2 separate regions of the Homo sapiens genome follow, and region 1 is linked to region 2. The links are contacts of gene promoters, found by promoter capture Hi-C in human tissues and cell types (Jung and others, 2019). All regions are on one chromosome and are shown on one strand. The core of a region is centred on a gene start or on the middle of the fragment in contact, and the rest is flanking DNA. Distances in the headings are between cores, read along the strand shown. Region 1 overlaps AGFG1 (ArfGAP with FG repeats 1). Region 2 holds the start of SLC19A3 (solute carrier family 19 member 3).

Region 1 (7,073 bases), core at 5-2,504, 240 kb before region 2:
AAAATGGCCTTCATGTTAAATAACTTCTAGTTGATTTAAAGACTAGTTTTAGACTAAATTATTTGTTTTATGGAGACTATAAACATTAGTATAATTGATATGTAATATAAAAGATTGTCCTAGCCTTAAAAAGTGATCCATAAATTTTTCAGTGAGGGTTTAGATAAAATAAAAAATAACATTTGAGAAAGAGGTTGCCACTTTAATACCATCTATTTTATGTGGACAGTGCATTTAAGCTTGAAATTTCACAGGTAATAAATGTAGCTGGATAGTAACTTATATTCTGTTGATTCTGTGTACATTGACTCTTGAGATGAATGTTACAAGAATTTTAATTTTTTTTAGATGACAGATGAAAAGAGGTATTTAATGTTTTTATACAATTAGTAGCATTAGGATGGATTGCAAATCAGATGCTCTTTTGGAGCTCTGTGTATAATATTCAGGACCTTGTGAGGTCACAGTGAGCAGGGATTTATATTCTTAATTCCTTTTTTACTTTTTTTGGATACTCTGATATGGCCACATTCAGTTAAGTATTTAGAGTAAGTGGCCAAAATATTTTATACTTTCTCTCTCTCTCTTTTTTTTTTTTTTTTGAGACATAGTCTCACTCCGTCACCCAGGCTGGAGTGCAGTGGTACGATCACGGCTCACTGCAACCTCTGTCTCCCGGGTTCAAGCCATTCTCCTGCCTCAGCCTCCCAAGTAGCTGGGATTACAGGCGCCCGCCACCATGCCCGGCTAGTTTTTGTATTTATAGTAGAGACTGGGTTTCGCCATGTTGGCCAGGCTCGTCTTAAACTCCTGACCTCAGGTGATCCACCGCCTTGGCCTCTCAAAGTGCTGGAATTACAGGCATGAGCCACCTCGCCTGGCCTAGATACTTTTTCAATTGTGAAGGACAAATTTTTTATTTTAAGCAAATATTTATTAAGTGCCAGATACTAGCCCATGTGCTGGAGATACAACAGTTAAAGTATTTATTGAAAAAAAAGAAAAAACTATTGAGTGCTAGCTGTGTGACAGACATTCTAGTAACAGTGATGTGAGGAAGGTACTATTATCCAAGCTCAACTTTAAGTTGTAAAATTAGTGCACACTCTTAGTGTTTTGCTGTTATAACCTGCTAGAAGTTGGGATCTGGAACTGATGCTGATTCCACCACCAAAGAATGTATGGTTACCATGGTTACCGTAAATTGTTGTGAATTCTATATTTTGGGGATTTAAATGGTAGATTTTACTTCATTGTGTTTCAAATGGCAGAAAAAAGACTTTTTCTTTTTTTTGTTTTTATTTTTTGAGACGGAGTTTCACTCGTCACCCAGGCTGGAGTGCAGTGGTGCGATCTCACCTCACTGCAACCTCCACCTCCCAGGTTCAAGCGACTCTCCTGCCTCAGCCTCCCAAGCAGCTGGGATTACAGGCATGCACCACCATGCCTGGCTAAATTTTTTTTGTATTTTTAGTAGAGATGGGGTTTCACCATGTTGGCCAGGCTGGTCTTGAACTTCTGACCTCAGGTGATCCACCTACCTCGGCCTCCCAAAGTGCTTGGATTACAAGCATGAGCCACCATGCCCAGCCCAGAATAGATATTTTATGATGCATCATAAATGTTTGTTTTATGGCTGTGTCATGCTTTTTATTATTTTTAGGGAACTTCTTAGCTCCAAAATGTGTGTTCTTATTTTTGAGTTTCATTGAGAAAATACTGTTGTGTATTCTGAAATCAATGGGAATGATGGTGCCGTTCCAACAGCGATTCTTTTCAATTTGGCATGTGCATACTACCATGTGCCGTAATTCTCGTGCTATTTTTTATATTTGAATTCTAATTAGAACCCCTCATTGTATGCAGTCAAGTTTGATAGTGGATAAGTTTATCAAAAAATTCAGTTAAAGCAAGCAATCAGTAAAAAAAAAAAAATACATACATGCACACATACATATACATGTATCTATTATATATACATATATAATATATATATTTAGCAAGCATAGGTTTTTTTGTTTGTTTGGGTTTTGTTGTTGGTTTGAGACAGGGTCTCACTCTGTCGCCCAGGCTGGAGTGCAGTGGCATTATCATGGTTCACTGCAGCCTTGACCTCCCCAGGCTTAGGTGATCCTCCGACCTCAGCTTCCCAGGTACCTGGGACTACAGGCGCGTGCCACCATGCCCAGCTAATTTTTGTAGAGATGGGGTTTCGCCATGTTGCCCAGGCTGATCTCCAACTCCTGGCTCAAGCAATCCTCCTACCTTGGTCTTCCAAATTGTGGGGATTACAGGCGTGAATTACCATGCCCTGCCTCAAGCTTAGGTTTTTAAATTTTAACATACAACTGTTAATTTGCTGGCACATAAGGCTTTGAATATGGGTCCACTGATTAGATTCTTTGTCCCCTAATATAACCCAGACTCATGCTGTACTATTTATGATTTTTAGCATTTTAATGTACTTATAAAACAGTTTGAATGCTGAATTCTTCTAGATTTTTATGATTTTTCTCTCAGTCTTTTACAGTTCTTTTCCATGGTCAAATAACAGCTTATCCTAGTGACTTGTTTTAGTCTCTAAAAATACTTAGTTTACATGGAAATAATTCTTCTCACTCATGCCATTGTTTTACATGACATTCACTTAAACTATATACTTACCAAGTACTGTACCAACTATATTACCAAATACTATACCAGACAAATTTTGATAAGCATAAAACTCACTCTCTCCTGAGAGAGGAGCAGGAGAAAGTGGCCTTCTAGCCATGAATGTTCATTGTGCAGTAGGCATTAACTTTAGGTTTCTCAGAGGGAAGGAGAAACATAGATTTAACCAGCAAATTGGATAAGAAGGACTCTTCTGTATAGTGCTGTGGGTACCTTTTATACTGGGAAAACTCCAGCATTCAGGTTGTGGTGACATCATTTGACCATAACTGAGTATAAAGGCATTATTGCCATGTTAAGCCTTTTTCTGTTCCCTATTCATTCATCCATCATTTTTGGCATGTGATTTTTAAACACTGGCTTTTAGTTTCAAAGTGGATAAAATACAGTTTAGATTAAATTTACATTAAATTTTATAATATTAGTGCATTATAAATGAAAAGAATTAAGACATTGTTTTAAAAGAACTTGCCGACCTCTGGATCTCAATTTGAAAATCATTGTCTTTTTAGAAACCTCTGTATCTGTTCCAATAGCATTCTTTGGAAAACAGGCAAATCTCCTTATTTGATATTTTCCTTCTTTTCTGTGCAGCGTGCATGATGTTCACATTTGTGAGAAACTCCTATGGAAATATTCGGGACTAGGTTTTACTACTCCCCCTCATTTTTTCCCCCACTTGAATGTGTTTTCTAATTCAAATCAAAGTGATGATTGTCTAGGGAAATACAACTTGGATACCTTTAATGTATGTAAAAACGTTTTAAAATCAGTTATAACTTTGAGTACTTACATTAATAGCATGTTCCTTGTGACATTTTTTACAACCTTACACACGAGAACTATTGCTAAAGACACCTGATTGAACATTAGAATGAAATTCATGAGCTATTCAGTGGGGACAGGAAACTTATTTGAGTTGTTTGAAATACAGAGAATTAATTTTTGTTTGTGTTAGAACATACTTTGCTCAAAGACTTCTGACTAAGATAGCAATCTTTTTGATTGACACCATACATGTTTTGTAGAGGTCATAATTATACCTTACTTTTATTCTGGTTGCTTGTTTTAAGAGGAATGTTAACAAACTGGAGCATGCTCCAAGGAATCTGATCAAGATGGTAAGGAAGTTTGAAACTATGTATTAGAGGAACATTTGCAGGAACCAAAAATGCTACTAGCTTAAAGAAGAAAAGATTAGACAGTGGGGGAGCTGTACACATGATCACTGTCATTGGGTAATTTAAGGCATTGGGAGAGGTAATACATTTATTTTTACGACTCTAGGGGGAGATGCAACACCAGTGTTTGTAAGTTATGGAGAAACAGTGTATGTTCAGAAAAGGAAAGAGGAATTTTCCTTGTAATTGTCAGATTCCAAAAATTCTTGTCTTTCCATATTTCTTATTTTATTTTATTTTATTTTTGAGATGGAGTCTCACTCCATCTCCCAGGCTGGAGTGCAGTGGCGCCAACTCAGCTCACTACAACTTTCATCTGTCAGGTTCAGGTGATTCTCCTGCCTCAGCCTCCCTGGTAGCTGGGATTACAGGCATGAGCTGCAATGAACTTCCTTCAATATGATCAGATGCATCAGCTACTTTTTTTTTTTTTTTAACTGTTTCTGGGTACTTTTATAATCTTCTGCTCTGGAAATGCTGCTGTCTAGGCCTGCTGTGCGGCTCTCATACCAGAACTTTTCTTCTATCTTCATTCTGGAAATTCCCTTCACTTGTAACCTATGTTAGATGCTCTGTTTCCAGGACCCCCAACATTTCCGTTAGCCTCCTGATGAAAGGTGAATGAGAGGTCATTTTTGAAAGCCACAAAGCTGAAAATGTTTTATTCTGCCTTCTTTTTAAAAATTAGTTTGCCTACATTCACAAAGGTGAAAATACTTTACCCTTGGAACTTTCAATATATTGCTTAGTTGTCTTCAAACCTTCAGTGTTGCTGTTGAGAAGTCTGATGCTATTCTTATTACTGAGTCTTTCTGACCCACTTCTTTTCTTCCCTCTTTTGGAGTATGTAAGATCTTCTTTTCTTCCTGCTGTTCAGAACCTCATATTGAAGTATTTTGGTGTAGGTCTTTTGTTCAGTGTTTTAGGCTTTTTTTTTTTTTTTTTTTTTTTTGAATTTGTTTGGAAACTCACGCTTTTTATAGTGCAGACATATTTTCTCCAATCTTCTTTTTTGGGGAATATAAAAGCCTGTGATGCCACTGTTCTGGGAACCAAGTTGAGGGAGGTGACTGTCATTCTGTGTGTTTGATCTTAGATAATCCTCCAGCTTTCCACATGGTCCCTAACAAGAGTCTTCAGCAGTGTCTTGAGTTTGAAGTCTCTGTGGTATAACCTCTTTAAAACTTTCCTTCAGACTTCCCACCTAGGGCTGGTGGGAGTATGCTTTTGGCTGTTAAGGAACTGGAGAGTCTAATGATTTCTGACCCCACTTTAAGCCCTCACCTGTATCCAGTTCCTTCAGTAAATCTTGATATGTCCTGTGGTGGGAATCAGTTTCCAGTTGGCTTCTCCCACCTTTGCAGAAGCTTCTGTTTTGGCTTTCTCCATAAAGTCACTTACTGCTGGTATTTTGTTTTTAAATCTTCCAAATTTTGTTATTCAAGAACTGTCGTGTGCTTTTGGACTCTTCTCTTGTTCTCTGACGCTCTGTTTATTTTAATTTTTGTGGGCACATAGTAGGTGTATGTATTTATGAGGTACACAAGATAGGAGTTTTGATACAGGCATGCAGTATGAGATAAACACATCATGGTAACCCTCTGTCTCTTGTGGGTTAATACCTTCTTATTCCTTTACTGTCATTTCGTTGTGGGTTTGGGCATGTGAAGAGATTTAGATTTTGTCCACTACTTTTTTTTTTTTTTTTTTTTTTGAGACAGAGTCTCGCTGTTGCCCAGGTTGGAGTGCAGGGGCGCGATCTCTGCTCACTGCAAGCTCTGCCTCCCGGGTTCACGCCATTTTCCTGCCTCAGCCTCCCACGTAGCTGGGACTACAGGCGCCCGCCACCTTGCCCCGCTAATTTTTTGTATTTTTAGTAAAGACGGGGTTTCACCATGTCAGCCAGGATGGTCTCGATCTCCTGACCTCGTGATCTGCCCGCTTCGGCCTCCCAAAGTGCTGAGATTACAGGCGTGAGCCACCGCACCCAGCCTTGTCCACTACTTTTAACTAGAATGCCTTAATTAGGTTTAAGTCATAACTTGAATATTATTTTTTAGATGCTTGCTCTAAGTGTTACAAGGACCTTATGGTGTAGTATTTGTGGCTTTCCCAGAAACTCAGAATAACAATAGGGATTTATATCATGCTTATTATTATATATAGAAAGCTAAATATATTCAGTTTTTTAATGTTGGACTCTGGATAGACGAATATTTTGGACTAGCCAACATATACGGTGTCTTGGCATCAATAGTTTGTAGATTTGATAACCTACTAAAGGCACCTTCCTTCCATCTGTTCTAGATTTTAAATGTATAATTTTATGCTATGAAACATATGTAATATTTTTAGTAAATAACTAGGATGGGCTAGATCTAAATGTCAACTTTATTACTTTCTGCCAGTATTATTGGCAACTACATAAACTTCCACAGGTTATTAAAAATATTTTTACCAGCTTCTCCCACAGCAGGAGAAAAACAATTAATAAAACTAACTAAATAAGCTTTCCTACTTACTCATCCAGCACAGATTGTTATTTGAATTGAACAAATGGTTATTTGCAAGATTGTTTGAGGCCTAGTTAAGAGCAGCACACTGATGGACATATGGAATGAGCCACACCATCTGGTTACAGTCATACCTGGGTGGTGGTCATTAAAACTAAATCTCCTGGGGATCTGCAGATGTCTTAATTATACTACAAAAATGTATTGGGCTGCACCAGTAGGCTACTTTGAACTTCTTGAAACCAGTTAACTTGCAAACATGTTTTCAAGATATCAAAACTGCAGTTATTGAGTCTTTTTTTTTTTTTTTTTTGCACAAAACTGAAGACTTAAAATGTGTATTTGAGGATCTGGAATGGGTGGTACTTCAGTATTGGCCCCATGAAAGTAATGTGGTTTACTTACCCAACACTTTCATCCAATAGTTATGACTAATATGACAGAAAAGTGTTTTATAAACCCTGAATTCACCCTGTAGCTAGAAGGGCTTTAGCAAAAAAGGGAAGTGACCTCAGGTTCACATCTTAAAAATACTTGTTTTGATTCACTGCAGGATTTTATTCACTTAAATGATCAAATTTGGTAGGTGAAGATAGTCTGCTAATGATAAATTTAATTACTCTAAAAATTGTGGTTACTATAGATACTAACACGAAATCAGGACTACAGTTTTTTTATTTCTTGACATACGTTATAATTTTTTGGT
Region 2 (6,214 bases), core at 1,828-4,327:
CTGAGACCACAGGCACCCGCCACCAGGCCTGGCTAATTTTTGTATTTTTAGTAGAGACAGGGTTTTGCCTTGTTGGTCAGGCTGGTTTTGAACTCCTGACCTCAAGTGCTCCACCCGCCTCAGCCACTCAAAGTGCTGGGATTACAGGTGTGAGCCGCCGTGCCTGGCCTTGCCCTGACTATTCTTACTAAAGTCACCTAATTTAGCTTCTATAGAATTTTGTGCTAAGTGACCTAGACTCTCAAAAAACTACAAAGTAGCCTTATCACCCATCTATAATCCTTTATGTCAAACCCCACACCCCCCCCAAAAAAAAATCTTTGCTGAAATAAAGCATGCCACACAACTTCCAAAGACGTAAACTAGACCCAGATATTCAGTATGTGGGCCAGAATAGTTCTGTTGTTTGTTTTTGTAAGAGCAGAAACAAGTGATATTTTTAAAATTTTATTTTTAGTAAAGATGGGGCTTTGCCATGTTGGCCAGGCTACTCTTGAACTCCTGGCCTCAAGAAATCCGCCTGCCTTGGCCTCCCAAAGTGCTGGGATTACAGGTGTGAGCCACCGCACCCAGCCCAAGTGATCTTTAAGATGCTTCAGATTTTATTTTATCATATATGGTACCATTCCTTTTAATTTGCATGAGGTGTTTGCTGGTAAATTAATCATTTCCTTCCAAATTCTGTTTATTCTGTTATGTCTATGTTCAGATCAATCTAGTCTTAGGGAGAGCAGGAGGAATATGCCTAAGAAAACCATAAAACTAAGAAAAACATAAAACGGCTTAGAAAGTCAACTGAGCCCAGCCTGGGCAAAATAGCGAGACCTCACCTCTATAAAAAATACAAAAATTAGCTAGGCATGGTGGTGTGTGCCTATAGTGCCAGGTAGTTGGGAGACTGAAGTGGGAAGATTGCTTGAACAGGGAAAGTCAAGGCTGCGGTGAGCCGAGATCCCAGCCACTGCACTCCAGCCTGGGCAACAAGAGCGAGACTCCGTCTCAAAAAAAAAAAAAAAAAAAAAAAATTTCAAAAACCCCAAACAAAACAAAACAAAAAAGGAAAGTCAGCTGACATCTAATCCTTGAGATGCAGTGAAAGTTTCTGATTAAATGCACTGAGAGAAGGTGGTGTTGTAGGGAAAAAACTGGATTAAAGAAAAATTAGAGGTCATTTGAGCTATTTTACAACTCTGTAAATTTTAACAACTGATGGCAATGTTAAGTAATTATTGTCTATAGACATGCAAATAAGGTTTATCCCATGAAGGACAACAGTCTTCCTTTCCCCCATGGAAAACCAGTTTCAATATTCCTGATCTATATTTCATTATTCAATATTCCTGATCTACGAATGTACCCATTCTTTGGGTTCTTCTTTGATCTGGCTACTACAGACTCATCAGTTTCGTCACTAATAAGTGCCGGGACTCAGAAGCCGATACCCCAAAATATGGGGCTTTGACATGCTGGAGACCTCAAGGTCTCTCTGACCTTCCCGGCTCCCAGCTCAAAAAAACCTTTGTCTGCCTAAGATCCAGACCCACCAAAAGGAACAACTGTTTCTTTTCCCTTCCCTGTAAGACCAAGAATATACCCCACACCTGAACAGACCCATTCACAAGATAATGTAGCTTATTCTCTCCCCTGACCCATTCATGCTCCCTAGCAGAAGCCCATCCACTTCTGCTGGATGCTCTTCGGCTCCCTCCCGTAACCTCATTTGCCAGGGTAGTCTATAAGCTTCTGAGACATGTTGCAGGGTGGGTAATCAATCACTCTGATTCTCCCTGTGTGCATGTTAAATAAATGTGTATGCATTTACCATTACACAACCTTAAAAGAGTGTTGTTGGTCTATTAGCAATAATGACTGAAGGAAATTGGTATTTTTGTCCATTTCAGCTACTACTAGGATAATCTTATAAGATATTTGGGAAGTTATGTTTTGGTCTATTTAATATATGTGCCTCGATGAAAAAAACACCTTTTGCCACAGGAGACACCAATGTTTCAATATTGATAGGAGCAAAACACATGAGAGTGCTTTTTTTTTTTTTTTTTTTTTTTTTTTGAGGCAGAATCTTGCTGGGTCGCCCAGGCTGGAGTGCAGTGGTGCAATCTTGGCTCACTGCAACCTTCGCCTCCCAAGTTCAAGCCATTCTTCAGCCTCAGCCTCCAGTGTAGCTGGGATTACAGGCACCCGCCACCATGCCCGGCTAATTTTTGCCTTTTTAGTAGAGACGGGGTTTCATCCCAGGGCCAAGCTGGTCTCGAATTCCTGACCTCAAGCAATCCGCCCCGCTCAGCCTCCCAAAGTGCTGGGATTACAGGCGTGAGCCACTGCGCCTGGCCTGAGAGTACTTTTAGAAAACATTATTCCTTTACCTTTTTCAAACTTGAAGCACTCCGAAAGTCCCAACCTTTTGCACATTTGCGGCAGCGACATTGATTTGGTAAACAGCTGTCACACTATTTATTATTTGATGACTTAGGTATCCTTTCCAGCAGTGTTTTTGTAAGGTGTAGTTGCGTTTTCTTTTAGTTTCAATTAACTAAATTTCAAGTGGTTCCCAAAAAAGCCCCTGCTCTCTTAAATTCAAACTCACCTTCCTTTTTCCCACTAGGAAGGACCTTTTCTCCATCCTTGGATTGGAATTTGGAATTCTATGCTAAAATGCCTTTTCAGTTAAAATCTGTGAACGTGGGATGTAACCATAGGAGGTGCTGGCACTTTACGGGAATCATGATTTTATTTAATCTGCGCTTCCAGAAGGCTGCAAATGGGAATTCCAGACAAACCCACTTGGGTGAATCCCAGCACGCGGGCTGCGGCGTAGGGGGAGAGCTCCTCACGCGGCTCAGAGTGTAGCCCAGGCCCGCAGAGCCAGGAACCCGCCCCCAGCTCTCCAAACCCGGGAAGAGAGAGGCGACACTGCTAAGACCGAGGGATGACGGTGCTTCTTCAATTAATTCGCCCCCCGAGATATTCTTACCTACAGAAGGGAGTGTCTGTTCACCAAATCGCTCACTTGCCGCACGACCACGCACCCGCGGCTGTCGGATGGATCCAGGCGCTCTTGGTGGGAAGGGGGCGGAGCCTGCCTGGCCCGGAGCCCGGGGCCACGCCCCCACGCTTTGCATATGCGAATCCGGGCGTCCAGACCTTTCATCCCAGTGTGGAAGCCCAGATTTTCCTGGCCCAGGGCCGGTTTTCTGGGCAGAAACAGTCAACTCTGCTGAAAGGAACAACTTAAGTAATACACTGACATTCAGCATAATGAAGCAAGAGGGCCTGAATCCAACAGCGATCGTTTGCTTTATTTACAAATATGTCCTTTCTTATGAATCCATTTATTTCTCTCCAAAAGCTTAGGAGAGAGGGCTGGCTGGCTGTCACCCCCACTCTACACATGAAGAAAGTGAGGCGGAAGGAAGTAGGCCTAGTAAATAGAGAAGCCTGGGTTTTAGTTGGGGCTCCTGGCTCCAGAGCCAGTGGTTATAATCACTCTGCACTTTTTTTTTTTAAAGGAGGTAGAGTGGGATGGTTTCCTGGCACTTTGAAAATCTGATACAAACAATTTTTTCTTTTCTTCTTCTTTTTCTTTTCTTTTCTCTTTTCTTTCTTTCTTTTTTTTTTTTTTGAGACAGAGTCTCCCTCTGTCGCCCAGGATGGAGTGCAGTGGCGCGATCTCGGCTCACTACAACCCTCCGCCTCCCGGGTTCAAGCGATTCTCCTGCCTCAGCCTCCAAAAATTAACGCCCAGTTAATTTTTGTGTTTTTAGTAGAGACGGGGTTTGGTTTCACCATATTGGCCAGGCTCATCTCGAACTCCTGGCCTCGTGATCCGCCTGCCTCGGCCTCTCAAAGTGCTGAGATTACAGGCGTGAGCCACCGCGCCTGGTCTTTTTTCTTTCTTTCTTTCTTTCTTTTTTTTTTTGAGATGGAGCCTCGCTGTTGTTGGCCCCGGGCTGGAGTGCAATGGCACGATCTTGGCTCACTGCAACCTCCACCTCCCGGGTTCCAGCAATTCTTCTGCCTCAGCCTCCCTAGTAGCTGGGATTACAGGCGCCCGTCACCACACCCAGCTAATTTTTGTATTTTTAGTAGAGATGGGGTTTCACCATGTTGTCCAGGCTGGTCTCAAACTCCTGACCTCAGGTGATCCACCCGCCTCGGCCTCCCAAAGTGCTAGGATTACAGGTGTGAGCCACAGCACCCGGCCACCTGGCCTCTTTTCTTTTCTTTTCTCTTTCTTTCTTTCTTTTTTTTTTTTTTTTGACAAAGTCTCACTTTATCTCCCAGGCTGGAGTGCAGTGGTGCAACCCCAGCTCACTGCAACCTCAATCTCCCAGGCACACTGATCCTCCTGCCTCAGCCTCCCAAGTAGCTGGGCTTGCAGGTGGGTGCCACCACGTCACATTAATTTTTTTGTTTTTTTTTTTTGGTAGAGACAGAGTCTCACTATCTTGCCCAGGCTGGTCTTGAACTCCTGGGCTCAAAGGATCCTCCTGCCTTGCCCGCCCAAAGTGTTGGGATTACAGGCATGAGCCACTACGCTTAGCCTGCAAAGAGTTTATATATTAAAGTGAAACTTCTTATTAAACAGAGAATTTTTTTAAAGCATTACAAGGTTCTTATTGGTTAAAATGGAAAAAATATTTTTATTTCTGTTCATCTCTTGGTGGACTTGAAAAACCCTCCCTAAAGATAAACACTGCGTGGCTTCTAAGGGCTACCAGTGGAAGTGAAATGGATTAAAACACCCCGAGGTGTCTTGGTTCTCTGTCCTACGACTCTGCGTTTTCTATTTTCATCTTCCTATGATTTGTGAAAAGTCCTGAGCTGAACCTTAGGTGTAGGAGTGCCCTGCTCATTGTGCAACCTTGCAAATTGCTGGGTCCTCCCAAAGAATATTGTGAAATTTTCTTAAAGGCTGAAGGTGTCATGATTTCCTTCACACCTCTTGAAGAAAATGAGTTCAAATTGGACCTTGAGAAGTTTACTCTGATTCTCTAATATCTCATAGCCACAGTCTAAATCAGAGAGAGATATTGAGGAATTCATTCATTCATGCATAGAAACATAAATGACACATTTGCAGATTACATGACATGACATTTGAGTTTGATCCCATACGACTGTGTGGGGAGAAGGCTGTGGATGGGGTCATAGATGACAAAAGATTGGCTGTGTGTTGATTATTGTTGACTTGGGCAGTAGTTCTTAGAAACTGATTGCACTATTTTCCATTTTTGTATATGTTTATTTTCCATAATACAAAATTGTTTTAAAATCATTTATTCTGACTGGGCACAGTGGCTAATGCCTGTAATATAGCACTTTGGGGAGCCGAGGTGGGTGCATCGCTTGAGCCCAGGAGTTCAAGACCAGCCTGGGCAACACAGTGAGACCCTGTCTCTACAAAAATACAAAAATTACCCAGACGTGGTAGCATGCGTCTGTAGTCCCAGCTACTTGGGAGGCTGAAGTGGGAGATTGGCTTGAGCCTAAAGAGGTGGAGGTTGCAATGAGCTGAGATCACACCATTGCACTCCAGCCTGAGTGACAGAGCCAGACCCTGTCTCAAATAAACCCATACACAAAAAAGAAAAAAAAATCATTTGTTCATTAAGAAGTTATTTATTGAGTAACTATGTGCCAGACACTGTCCTAGGTGCTTGGGATACATTCGTGAACAAAGCTAAAAATCTCTGCCTTGTAATTTACATTCTAGCTTGGGATGGGGTATATAGAGGGAACATAAATAGTAAACATGATGAGTTAGTGAATTTTATAGTGTGTTAGAAAGTGGTAAGTGCCGTGGATCCCACTGAGAAGAGGATGGAGAAGATGACTAAGCCTGAGGCTTGGAGCTCCAACTTGGGAAAGAACCTACAGGGAGGCTGAATGAGAACAGTAGGAGAGGGAGCCATAGTGTATTAGGGAGTTGCTCAACACTGTGTACCTCCCTATTATACTTCCTCTTGCACTGTTACTAAAAAATGTGGCTGCAATTATGTCCATGAAAACCTATACAAGGCCAGGCATGGTAGCTCACGCCTGTAATCCCAGGTGAGTAGATCACCTGAGGTCAGGAGTTCGAGACTAGCCTGGCCAACATGGCGAAACCCCATCTCTACGAAAAATGCAAAAATTAGCCAGGCGTGGCGGCACACCCCTGTAATCCCAGCTACTTGGGAGGCTGAGGCAGAAG

Evidence for each region. Contacts are between HindIII fragments. The study calls those that stand out against the background at their distance.
Region 1: a contact is called between a fragment that was not itself captured here and the fragment with the promoter of SLC19A3 in region 2, in 1 of the 25 tissues and cell types used here (aorta).

Annotation. Positions count from the first base shown.
Region 1 is chr2:227,476,318-227,483,390 of GRCh38, forward strand. The region is part of intron 1 of AGFG1 (ArfGAP with FG repeats 1); the gene reads left to right. Among named protein-coding and RNA genes, the nearest start is that of AGFG1, 7.7 kb to the left of the region's middle. The HindIII fragment of the contact is 5,033 bases long and covers 1-3,771 here.
Region 2 is chr2:227,714,951-227,721,164 of GRCh38, forward strand. It overlaps SLC19A3 (solute carrier family 19 member 3), which reads right to left and starts at 3,078. Exons shown (of 6, transcript NM_025243.4): 1 at 2,993-3,078. RefSeq lists an enhancer at 2,609-3,495. The HindIII fragment of the contact is 9,813 bases long and covers 1-5,811 here.